Linked DNA regions of Homo sapiens: region 1 is linked to region 2. Evidence: promoter capture Hi-C in 16 types of primary human blood cells and fetal thymus (Javierre and others, 2016). All regions are on one chromosome and are shown on one strand. The core of a region is centred on a gene start or on the middle of the fragment in contact, and the rest is flanking DNA. Distances in the headings are between cores, read along the strand shown. Region 1 overlaps SLC35D1 (solute carrier family 35 member D1). Region 2 holds the start of LRRC40 (leucine rich repeat containing 40).

What was found. The method cuts DNA at HindIII sites, captures the fragments that hold promoters and counts their contacts. A CHiCAGO score of 5 or more calls a contact.
Region 1: a contact is called between a fragment that was not itself captured here and the fragment with the promoter of LRRC40 in region 2, in 1 of 17 cell types (total CD4 T cells). The highest score is 6.8, in total CD4 T cells.

The regions. Positions count from the first base shown.
Region 1 is chr1:67,045,258-67,051,613 of GRCh38, reverse strand. It overlaps SLC35D1 (solute carrier family 35 member D1), which reads left to right. Exons shown (of 12, transcript NM_015139.3): 5 at 1,110-1,181; 6 at 1,764-1,832; 7 at 4,247-4,349. Among named protein-coding and RNA genes, the nearest start is that of SLC35D1, 5.7 kb to the left of the region's middle. The HindIII fragment of the contact is 3,063 bases long and covers 1-2,786 here.
Region 2 is chr1:70,202,997-70,208,777 of GRCh38, reverse strand. It overlaps LRRC40 (leucine rich repeat containing 40), which reads left to right and starts at 3,199. Exons shown (of 15, transcript NM_017768.5): 1 at 3,199-3,388. The coding sequence starts at 3,238. It also overlaps a transcript of SRSF11 not described here. RefSeq lists enhancers at 2,976-3,285, 3,546-3,605. The HindIII fragment of the contact is 8,465 bases long and covers 1-5,781 here.

The DNA of each region.
Region 1 (6,356 bases), core at 6-2,505, 3.2 Mb after region 2:
GGCACAAGAACTTTTGCAGTTTTTCTTTTAATGTGAAGTAAGGTAACATCAGCTAGAACCCTGATAAAAATATTATTAATATCTTACACATGGCATGTAACTGTAGAGGCAACATACTTATTTTCAGAAAGAAGCAATAGCTCTCCTCTCCATGGTAACACTGTCTTTCCCTCTAACCTCCCGGTTTCTGGCTTCTGCTCTTATTGTAGTGTACATATCGGTTGTGTGTGGTATTAAAATGACACAAATAGAGAAAACATTTAACAGAAACCCCATGGCTTCACCACTACCACACAAGCTAAAACCCTGGCATTGTAAAATAGAATGGAGAGATTTTTGAGCATCAAGGACAAGGTGTTTTTCATTTCTTCCTTTAAAACCCGAGAAACCTGACAGAATGACCGAGATGATATCTCTGAAGAGGGTTCCAAGGAAGTCAGATTTATCATGGGTGGGACATTTTTTTCCATTTCATTACCCACCAGGAAAGAAATGCAGGCCTTCTGCAAAGTGCTGCTTGTGTAGAGTTTGCTTTTTTTCATCCATCTCATCCAACCATTCATTCACACCTATCTTTGATTGCCAGCTAAGTATAAGGCACTTTGGAGTGAGATAAGATATATTCAGAAATAACTATATTGCAAGAGGCTGTATGTTTGATTAGTACAAGCAAAATGCTCTGGGAATTTAGATGAAGACAAAATTACATCCACAAAAGGACAGTCAAGGCATTTCATGGGGTAAGATTTTCATAGATGGTTTTTGGGTGGTCTAGGGGGTGGGAAGGGAGGTCAGACTAGTGAAAAAATGAGAAGGAAGCCTTTTTCTATTAAAAACTGACATATTTACAGCTTAGGGTTTTGCATAATTAGAATAAAGTTTTGTAGTTAATTTAATGTTTCTCACTTCTAGTAGTTTTTTAAAAGCAACTGTTGTAGGCTTTCAAGTAGGAATTGCTTCTAGAGAGAAGCAGGGGTTTAACCATAAATTAATTTGTATGGAATTTCCATAATGGAAGAATAGCATTATTTTAACTACCAATTTGGAAAATCTTAGTTTAAAACAAATTGTTAAATTCTATTTTACCTAATTATCTTTTTTTTTTCCAGCTTGCCAATGTTTACAGTTCTGAGAAGGTTCTCCATCCTGTTTACAATGTTTGCTGAAGGAGTTTTACTCAAGTGAGCTAAGTTTCTAATATATCTGTTCTTTAAATCACCTTGAAAAGGTGCCCAGCATATGTGAGATATTAAATTATTTGTCTTGTTCCTACCTTACCTTTTGAGAAGTTTAAGCAACCCTCTCTCTTGGCTGCTGGAATTGATAGTTTGTGGGAGTGGTAGTTGGGAAGGTTATGAATTAGAGTTGAAAATCTTATCTGAACGTGAGATTTACTTTCTAGAATTTCTGTACTACTGCCACCGGGAGAAGCTGGATCAGAATCATAGGTATAGGTTTTAAATAGTGTTCATGTCTAGCTCCAAATGAATGTGACATTTTTCTGTTAAAGAAATTCTGCTTCACAAAAATTCAAACTCACTAATAATGACAATAGGTGAAAATTTTAAAAGTGGGTGTAATAACTTATATAACAATAAATTTTTGCTTTATCAAAGGGGTTCTTTTAAATATCAGTTTCTCAGAAATGTTTAAAATACGATTGTTTATAGCTTTTGAGAAAGCATATCCCATTTTTTGCTTCTGTTGTAAAATGAGTGTGGGAATAAAGTCATGTGTGTATTTTAAAATTTTTTGTTTTGTAGGAAGACTTTTTCTTGGGGTATTAAAATGACTGTATTTGCAATGATTATTGGAGCCTTTGTAGCTGCCAGGTAAGATGTGGGCCTATGACTAGCACATTATAAATTGTCAATAATTATTGATAATAAATGATTGCTTATCAATAACAATTTTTTATTGCCTAAATAAGAATTATATCTTTGAAAAGCATCTAGAAGACTCTTGAAAAGGTTAAATCTTTTTGGCTGTATTAAGATAAAGGTTGACAAAAATAAGATTCTTGGGATTGTTAAAATTTAAATTGATGTAATTTAGAATTTGTTACTGTCGTTGTGCTGAGCACATAGCATGTGCCACACAATATGTTTGGCATTTTACACATCTTATTATGTATTCTTCACAACACCTCTGAGAGGTATGGGTATAATTTTCCTATTTTATAGTTGAAGAAACTAAAACTTAAGTTCAATAACTTACTTAAGGTCACAGAGCTAATGGCAGAGCTGAAATTTGAATCTGTGGCTTTCTTCAGAGCCTGTGTGTTTTTATAAACCATGTGGCATTTCTTTTTTTTTTTTTTGAGACGGAGTCTTGCTCTGTCGCCCAGGCTGGAGTCCAGTAGTGGGCTCTCGGCTCACTGCAAGCTCCGCCTCCCAGGTTTACGCCATTCTCCTGCCTCAGCCTCCCGAGTAGCTGGGACTACAGGTGTCTGCCACCACACCCAGCTAATTTTTTGTATTCTTAGTAGACACGGAGTTTCACCATGTTAGCCAGGATGGTCTCGATCTCCTGACCTCGTGATCCGCCTGCCTTGGCCTCCCAAAGTGCTGGGATTACAGGCGTGAGCCACCGCGCCTGGCCTGGCGTTCCTTAATTTTGCATGCTGCTAAAGAAAAGCATGTCTCCTCTTCTGTGAGGTGAGGAAAATGACTATGAAACATTTGCTTGCCTTTTCGAATAATGAACAATAACATTGCTTTAATTGGCCTCACATAAGATATGTCACAAATGCCATAACTTAGATATTCTATTAGGTTATTAAAGCTTTTCCCATTTTTCTTAAGTTTTAGTTTTAAAATACATGAGGAAAATGTATACCCACAGACCTAGAAAATTATAATGATGCTAGAAGTCTTCTACAACATTTTAATCAGCCCAGGGCATGCATATATGTATTTACTAATGCCACACATTCTGCCAGACATATGTTTTCCATCCAGGAGTTCCAGTGTACTTCTTGAATTGACTCATTTACCTTCATCACATTCCTGTAGTATAGGTGGAAGAAAATATTATCAGTCCAGTCCTGTTTTACAAGTCCAATCTCCAAGTAAAATTTCATTCTAAAAAAAAGAGAGTGGCGTAATTGGTTACTAGAAATTGGCTATATAGCTAACTGCTTTTCCTTCTATGTCATATTCCCCCCTTGGAGAAAAATTCTATGCTAGCCTCCTACCTTTCTTTTTAGAGGTGCCCTGCTAGTCTTTGAAACATTTCCTTGAAGCTGATGGGACCCAAAATTGTACCAAACAACAGGGGTTCCTCAGGGCTTTCTTGTGTCTACAAAAACTTCTGAAAAGGATTACTGTCTGGACCAGCCTTATCTGGTTAGACCCTTTGACTTGGAAAAAGATTGAAAGGAAGGGAACTCAGACCTCTGAAGTCAGTCAGAAGGTTGTTAGACTGCTTGGGGTAGGGAGTGTGCATTAAGTTAGTCCTGCCTAAAATTGCAGTGGCATAGAACTCATTAGATAAGTCTTGGCTCCTATACAGTATCTCTGCAAAATCAGAGTCTGTGCAGCCACTATTTTAGCTAGGGTGCTGAAGTATGCTGAAGGCATACCTTTCTCAGATTTTCATTTATTCTGTTTAATTTACTAAATTCTTATCTCGTGCCTGGTACTCTAAGTTCCAGAAATTTTCAGTTTCCCTAAACCCCCAAGTTATACTTCACAGGTTCATTGAGCTATTGTTTAAGTATTTGAGTTCCTGCTATGTGCTTAGACATTGTTCTAGCTTGATCTCAGAACTAACCATGATCCACACTTCAGAAATTTCACCCAGGGGCCCAACTACCTATGCAAGATAGTCCTACCTTTCATGTGGACCTTCAGAAAATGACTTGTTAATGGCCTCATCCTTTTGGTTTTCTTGTCTATGAAATTGAGCTCTGCCTGCTTCTGCCTGCTTCACAGATGTACTTAATGGTAATTTGGTGCTTGTTGTCATCTGGCTTTGAATGCAGAGCGGTGTGCTATTAAATGACATGAATGACCGTTGCTAATTATGTGTTTAAATGTTAGTGCCTCTTATTTCTGAGGAATCCCTTATTGAGGTGAAATTGCAAACTATGACCAGAAATCAAGAAATACTAGTAGCTGATAAAATGCCTAATATTCACTTCCCTAGATGAGAATATGTTCTTGTAAATATTTTAGCTTATATCTATTTAAAATTAAATGCATGTTCTTTAAGTTGTTCTTAAAGTGTTGCTTATGTTTTGCAGCTCTGACTTGGCATTTGATCTGGAAGGATATGCTTTTATTCTGATAAACGATGTCCTAACAGCAGCAAATGGTGCATACGTAAAACAAAAATTAGATTCAAAAGTAAGTAGCAATCTAAAGCTTTAACAGTTGTGTACTGATGTTGGCATGTCAATTCATAGGAGAAAAAGTGGGGAATAAAGAAAGTTCTTACTGGGGATGAGAAAGACATAGTGGCTCTCTGAGGGTAAAATTCCTGTACTTTAGTGTTCATATAAGAAACTTTATTTTTTAATTAATTAGCAATTAGGTTTTATTCCAGGCTTTTCTGGGATTGCGTGAATTTTGACTTCGTGTGGGGTAGGGAAAGTAAAGTGTGTTCACTGCAGTGTCTTTAAATGTTCATGGCTGTATTCTAGAGGACTTTCCGAGGGACCTGGGAGGCAGAAAGAGAACTACTTGGAAACCTTTGGGCAGACTTGAAGGGAAATGAATGTTGGAAGGGGCTGCAAAACAAAAATGGCCTTTATGTATTTGCCCTATAAATAATGGGAAATTTTAGGGAGCATTAGTATCTCTGTCTCTCTTAGGGGCAACACAGTGTTTCCTGGCCTTGGCTTTACCAGATATTGTTTATTTGTTTACTATATACTTTAAATATATTATTTTTAGATCAAGCCAGATTATTAGAAAGCTGAGTATTTGAATCATATTGCTTTTGCAACATTACGTTATGAGATTACATTACTGTAAGAAACACCTAAATGGATCTCAACTTTATATATCCTAGGGTGGCTAATTGAAGGAATTGTCCTTGATATCATAATGTATCCTATATGAGGACTCATATGAGATACTTATCTTAGATGTCACCATAGTTTTTCCTGAGCAGCTGGTACATTTTTATCTCATAATTACATCTTGTAACTGACCATGACTTTATCTTATTTTCCTACCCATATTTTCTCTTTAGTCAGATGACTTTAACTGCTTAGTTTTTAGTCTTTTCTATTATGTGTAGAATGTTTCTGAAACTACTTAAGTTCCTTTTTGGGAGCTTAGATAATAAATAAATACAAGTGTCCTACCTGCTTGATAGTACTATTAGTATTGAATTGATCTTGCCTTGGCCAGGGGCTTTGCCTGCTCCTCTAGAAAAGAAGTGTAGATTCAATGTCTATCCCAGTAGGTTTCATTATTTTGCAGATAGTTTATTTTTTTTTGTTTTGTTTTTGTTTTTGGAATAGGCTTGAAGAACCAAGGACGGTGTTGATTTGTTTCCAATCCATTTTCTTTAAATATGCATGTCTTGGCCTCCATTTATTTGCTTTGATGAATCTATATGATGGTTACATTTTAATGGAAGCTACTAGTAAGAATTTTTATCTTTTTAAAATAGCTAGAGAAAAGGTAGCAGTTAGTGATTGATCTTACTCTTTTCTTCAGCCCATTTGCTGCTTTGGAAAATAGATACTATTAATGACATTTTATTTGTCCAGCAGCTTCAGTTGTCTAAAACATCACTGTTAATAGAATTTTCTGTGACATTGGAAATTTATATTTCTGCTTTCCATTAACTGGTCATTAGCCATGCATGGCCCTTGAGCACTTGAAAATAACTGAGAAACTGAAATCAGTAGTTTTATGTGATTATAATTAAATTGAAATAGCTACATGTGGCTAGTGGCTACCATATTAGTACAATCTATAGTATATCCTAGAATCTAGAAAAAAAATCAAAGTTTCTGAGTGTTTTATTCCTAGGAGAGCCCTTCAGTTTCTCACTTAGAAATCACTATGACTTATTTATACTAGAACTTTTAAGTTCATTGATTACTTCTCCTAGCTCATATCTTATAAGCAACAAACTAGAAGGTAGAATTCTATTTAGAGGCAGAGAGGTTTACCAGCAGTATAAAAGGTCAGCTAACAAGAGAAACAGTCAGATTGTAAAAGACAGAAATACTGGAGAAGAAGAAAAAGATACAGGGTCTATTAAACAGCCGTAAGGGCAACACTGAATAAGAACATAATACATAAACATAATAATACAGATTTATGATGCGTAACAGTGTATCATAAGATGTAATAATACATGTTTATGATGATGCCCTAAATCTAGTTTCAGTC
Region 2 (5,781 bases), core at 1,950-4,449:
ATAAAGAAGCTCAGTTGAAGTTGATTAGCTTTCAGTTTCCATCCATTTGAGACAAAACATGTTATTTTCTCTATTGCATTAGGTAATAATTTTTACTGTAACTTGCTCAATCTGCACTTACTACATAAATACAATACAGCAGCTGGGTGCGGTGGCTCACACCTGTAATTCCCGCAATTTCGGGGGCCGAGGCAGGTGGATCACATGAGGCCAGGAGTTTGAGACCAATCTGGCCAACATGGCGAAACCCTGCCTCTGCTAAAAAAATACAAAAAAATTAGCTGGGTGTGGTGGTGCGTACCTGTAATGCCAGCTTCTTGGGAGGCTGAGGCAGGAGAAATCACTTGAAGCTGGGAGGTGGAGGTTGCAGTGACCAAGGTTGAGCCATTGCACTCTAGGCTGGGTGACAGTGCGAGACTCCATCTCACTCACACACACACACACACACACACCATACACTGTATTACAGTAACTAGTACATTCTTATATATGTCAGTTTATATCTATTGGAGTTTACCACAAGCATATGGCCACTGGGATTTTTTTTCAGAATTACTCTTTGCCATTAAACAGAAGATACTTTCCTTATACAAGATGAAACAATGTTTTAATACAGTATCATTAAATGTCAATAATGAAATATTTAACTTCAAGAACAACAAATTTAAAAATTATACCTTGCTGTTATTTTTTAATAAATTGAACTAGGCAGGGTGTGGTGGCTCATGCCTATAATCCCAGTGCTTTGGAAGGCCCCAGATAGAAGGATTGCTTGAGGTGGCTCATGCCTGTAATCCCAGTGCTATGGAAGGCCCTAGATGGAAGGATAGCTTGAGGCCAGGAGTTCAAGACCAGCCTTGGCAACACAGACTCGTTTCTACAAAAAATAAAAACAATTAGCTGGGCATGGTGGTGTGATGGCTACTCAGGAAGCTGAGGTGGGAGGACTGTTTGAGCCCAGGATTTCGAGGTTGCAGTGAGCTGTGATCGCACCACTGTACTTCATCATGGGTGACAGAGTGAGACCTGGTCTCTTAAAAAAAAAAAAAAAAAGAACGAAAGAAGAATCTATTGTAGGGGGAGGGGTGGTTACTGTAAAATTTTGTACTCGAGCAATTCAATTCTCCAAAGGTGGGTTGTTTCTTCCCCAAAGGTAGGTTGTTACTATAAAGAGAAAAAGGTGGTTCTTTAATAAAGAAATCTTCTTAAAAACAACTGAAGTGTCTCTTACAATGATTACAGGATTAAAAAAAAAAGCAAGTTGGGAATTATGAAAAGCCACTAGGGAAGTCATGGTGATTAAAAAGAAAGGTTTTGGAGACAGATCTAGGTTCAAATTCCTGGTCGTGCTATTCAGAGAAACTTGTGAGGTTGGGTAAGTTTCTTCACCCCTTTTAGCCTCAATTTCCTTATCTGCAAAATTAGTCACTGTGTTAAATAAGAAATAGCAAACAGAGGTATTATTAGCACTGAGCCTGGTATGGGCCCAATAAGGCAGCTATTACCATTACTGTGAAGACAAGCTGACCAGGGACCTCATTAATAACGTTGCAAAAGCTGCTACGGTCGTTTTCCTTTAAAACTCAGGCTGGGCACGGCGACTGACACCTGTAATCCCAGCACTTTGGGAGGCCGAACTGGGCGGATCGCTTGAGGCTGGGAGTTCGAGACCAGCCTGACCAACATGGCGAAACTCCGTCTCTACTAAAAAATATAAAAATTAGCCAGGTGTGGTGGTGCGCGGCTATAATCCCAGCTACTGGAGAGGCTGAGGCAGGAGAATCACTTGAACCTGGGAGGCGGAGGTTGCAGTGAGCCGGGATCACGCCACTGCATTCCAGCCTAGGCGACAGACCAGACTTTGTCTCAAAAAAAAAAAAAAAAAAAAGACAAAAATCCACTCTTTGCTTTTTTAGTAGGGTAACAACTATTGGTAACTTTCTCTTGTTCGATATTAGTGTAAAGGACTCCACAGAAATAAGAACAAAAAGGGTAGAGTTAAAAACCGAATTTTACAGGTAGCAATAACCTGGACTCAGGTAAAAGTGCGTGATGAAGAATTGATCAAAGGGCCTTCATCCTAGCTTTCAACTATTCTACCAATCCTCAGTAGACTTGATGGGGGTTAGAATGGTATTCCCTGGCATATGCTTTTAAAACAAAATCATTTCAGGCAAAAGAAAAGTCTAGCACCCAGGATAGTACACATACTAGGCAGGATTAATCTTAATAATTACTTGTTGAATCAAGAAGTTGTACATTTCAGATGAAAATTTTAATTTCCTAGGAAACACCGACTTACATTGAACAAAATTTTCATTTGCTATTATTCTGGACTCACCGAGAGCTCAAGATTCTAGTTTTTATCTTCACTTATTTCAAAAACCTTATGCGGTAGGAATTATCCCCAAAGTAATGAAAAAAAGGAATGAGCTTTAAAAGCGGTTGAGTAAACTGCCTAAAGTTAACAGTTTCTAAAGTAAAGAAGCAGCTGAGATTTGAACTTGCTTTTTAGGGCTCAAAAATCCAAGCTGTCTGAGCTTCACTAAAGCATGTACCACTACTTGTCTCCCTAAACTGTCTGATACACAGAACATTTATTAAATTTTAAGGATTTTTGTTTTTGTCTTCTATGTTGCCAGTCCTTCCATTTCACATTACCTCCTTTGCTGGGTAAGCTATATACCCTCAATACAACGAGAATGGTGTCAGAGTACAAGCCTTAAGAACAGAAAATTTCTTTTACTCCGTACGCCAGAGGTCTGGCGCCACCACCACAAGCGACAAACACAGGCTGGGGTCCAGAAACGCTGCCGACCGCGCCCAGATCTCAAGTTTTAGTCAAGGCCCACGTTCAGACTAGGAGAGGGGAGAAGAGAGGGTTCTCTTTCCCCACACCCTCGCCACGGTGGAAGCACAGAGGAGAAGGTTGGAGTCGCAGTAACAGTGCAAACAATAAACCCGAAAGCCCCTCTTAAGCCCGTTAAACGCACTTACTTGATTGAAGTAATTCCAGGACGCTAGGCCGGCACCGGCAACGGAAAAGGCTTCTCTGTCCTCCAGCCCAGGCGCTGGTGCTGACGACATCTGGACTGCGCCGCAGAGAGTGAAGGCCCAGCGCGAGGCCGCGAGCCCAGCGCCCAGAGCGCGCGCTCACGAAAGGAGCGGGGCATCCCAACGGCGCCACCTTTAAGCGTCACGGGTGGGGCTGCAGCTTCTGGACCTAGGACTTTGAACATGTCGCGCCTGAAGCGGATAGCGGGGCAGGATCTCCGCGCTGGTTTCAAAGCAGGTGGAAGAGACTGCGGTACCTCGGTACCCCAAGGGCTGTTGAAGGCAGCGAGGAAGAGCGGCCAGTTAAACCTGTCGGGTAGAAACCTCAGTGAAGGTAAGACCCAGAGGTACGACCCTATTGTGTCTCCTGTCAGAAAGCCTTTGGCCCAGGCAACCTCCCTTTTCTCTGGGCTGGCTTTGGCCCCCTTTCTCAGACTGCTAGCCAGAATTTCTGTGCTCTAATCTAATCCCTGTGCTCATTTCGACCGGTTTGGTTAGCCCAGTTCAGTTCCTTCCCAGGTTCCCGCAATCTCTGTTAAAGGGACCCTGCTAAAAATACGGTCTAAATTTAAACGGGGCGCTTTCTGGGATTCCCACATTCTGTGGGATAAGCAACATAATATGTGACGAAACCAGCTATCAAATCACGGGCAAATCTTTTGTTTCTTTGGCCCTTATTTTCCTCCTCTTATTGTAATCTTCAAGGGCAATTACCAAAGCTAAAATTATATGTTTTATCGGCCCCTTTGTGAACCTGCACTGTTCCCTGCCGAGACGCTCTTCTGTATGCAGCTGTGCAGAGTTCTACTTACAAGGAATAATGAGTATATTTTCTAAGTTGAAGATCAGGATAGATGCCACACAGAGTGTTTGAATGTGGGGACATCCTGAGAAACCTGTTAAAGACCAAGAAGCACAAATCTGGGTACCATGAATGAATGGCCAGATGCTCTTCTGATTGTCGTGTGTGTGTGTGTGTGTGTGTGTGTGTAAGAGAGAGAGGGAGGGGAATGGAGAGATGGAGAAATAGAGCATTTTTCCTGTAATGTTTTTCTTCATTTATATTTAGGTTTTAAGACTGATTAAAACCTTCCATTTTCCTTCTAATGATTGCTTTCTTATTGTGACATGTATAAAGTAGATTAGGCAAGCAAATGCTTCTGAATGAATGAAAAGACACAGAATCCTTACTCCACCTAAAAGAGTTTTTGATCAATGGGAACATACTCATTTTCAAACTACAGTTGTGCATATATATATATCTACTTGGTTTCCCCAAAACCTGAAACATTTTTCTCTAAACTTGCATACCTATCATGCTAACATTCTGTTCTCTTACCTGTTTAATTTTTTAACAGCATTTATCACTATCAGAATTTATATCATTTATGTTTTTTGTTTTCTCTGCCCTCCAACCAAAAGGTTAATATCATGAAGTCAGTGAGCTTTGTTTTGTGCTTTGTTGTATTTCTATCACTGAAAATAGTGCTTGGTACATAGTAGAGTCTTATTAAATTTTGCGGAAGCAATAAGTAAGTGAATGAGTATTCTCAAATCATAAGTGGTGTGCTAGAATGTACTTATTGACTAGACTCAGGTGGTTTCGTCTGTTAAACTTTAAGAGAGCACATGGATTCTGACTCTTAGGTCCGTGATGATATGGATTAGAACTGCTTAGGTTATTGTTATATAACCAGAACCTAACACTTTACCTGGTACATAAAATGATTTTAAATGAGTGAATAAACAGCATTTCATAGGAGGGAAAGATATAAATGGCAGAAACTCATGGTATTTGTAGCTTATATATAAAAAAGGAATCCCTGTTACTATAATATAGAAAGTCTTTCTCTGTCTGGCTGTATGTAGCCCTCAGTTTCATCACTTGTTAGTGAAACTTTGATAGGCAAACCACTATAATTCTGAACTGTTTGTAGTTCGTTACGGGGTCGTGCTTCTTATCTTCCTATCTTTGCTCACATAACATTGAGATGGTTAATCACTCTGTGCCCTAATTTCTCATTTATTATGCAGGAGTCATAACAGGACCTATTAAGGTCTAAATGAGATAAAATGAAATAAAGTGCCTGGTACATAAAAAGTACACAGTAAAAATTCACCATTGCTGTTATCATGGCAGCACCTTCTAGTTGGTTTCCTGGAGTTTTTACTTTACATCTCACTCTTGCTACTCCAGAGGCTGAGGCAGGAGGATCACTTGAGTCCAGGAGTTTAAGGCTGTAGTGCCTTATGATCACACCTGTGAATAGCCACTGCACTCTAGCTTGGACAATATTGTGAGACCCTGTCCATAAACAACAACAACAACTACCCTCACACTCTAAATCCTAGTGTCATTACCAAGAGTTATTTTTCCAAAACAGATCTTACATCACTCAAAACGTTTAATGACTTCCCATAGCCCAGAAGATACGGTATAGGTAAACTTTTTAGCACAGCATACAAAAGTCTTTCTAAACCTTTCCCTTAACTATTTACTTTGAGGCCTCTTTTCAGTATCCTATACTTTGATAATGATAGTAGCTCATGCCTGTAATCCCAGCACTCTGGCAAATTGAGAGGCAGGAGGATCGCTTTGAGGCCAGAAATTCAAGACCAGCCTGAGGCAACATAGTGAGACCCCATCTCTACAAAAAATACAAGAATTAGATGAGCATGGTGGCGTGCGCCTTTAGTCCTAGCTACTTGGAAGGCTGAGGTGGGAGG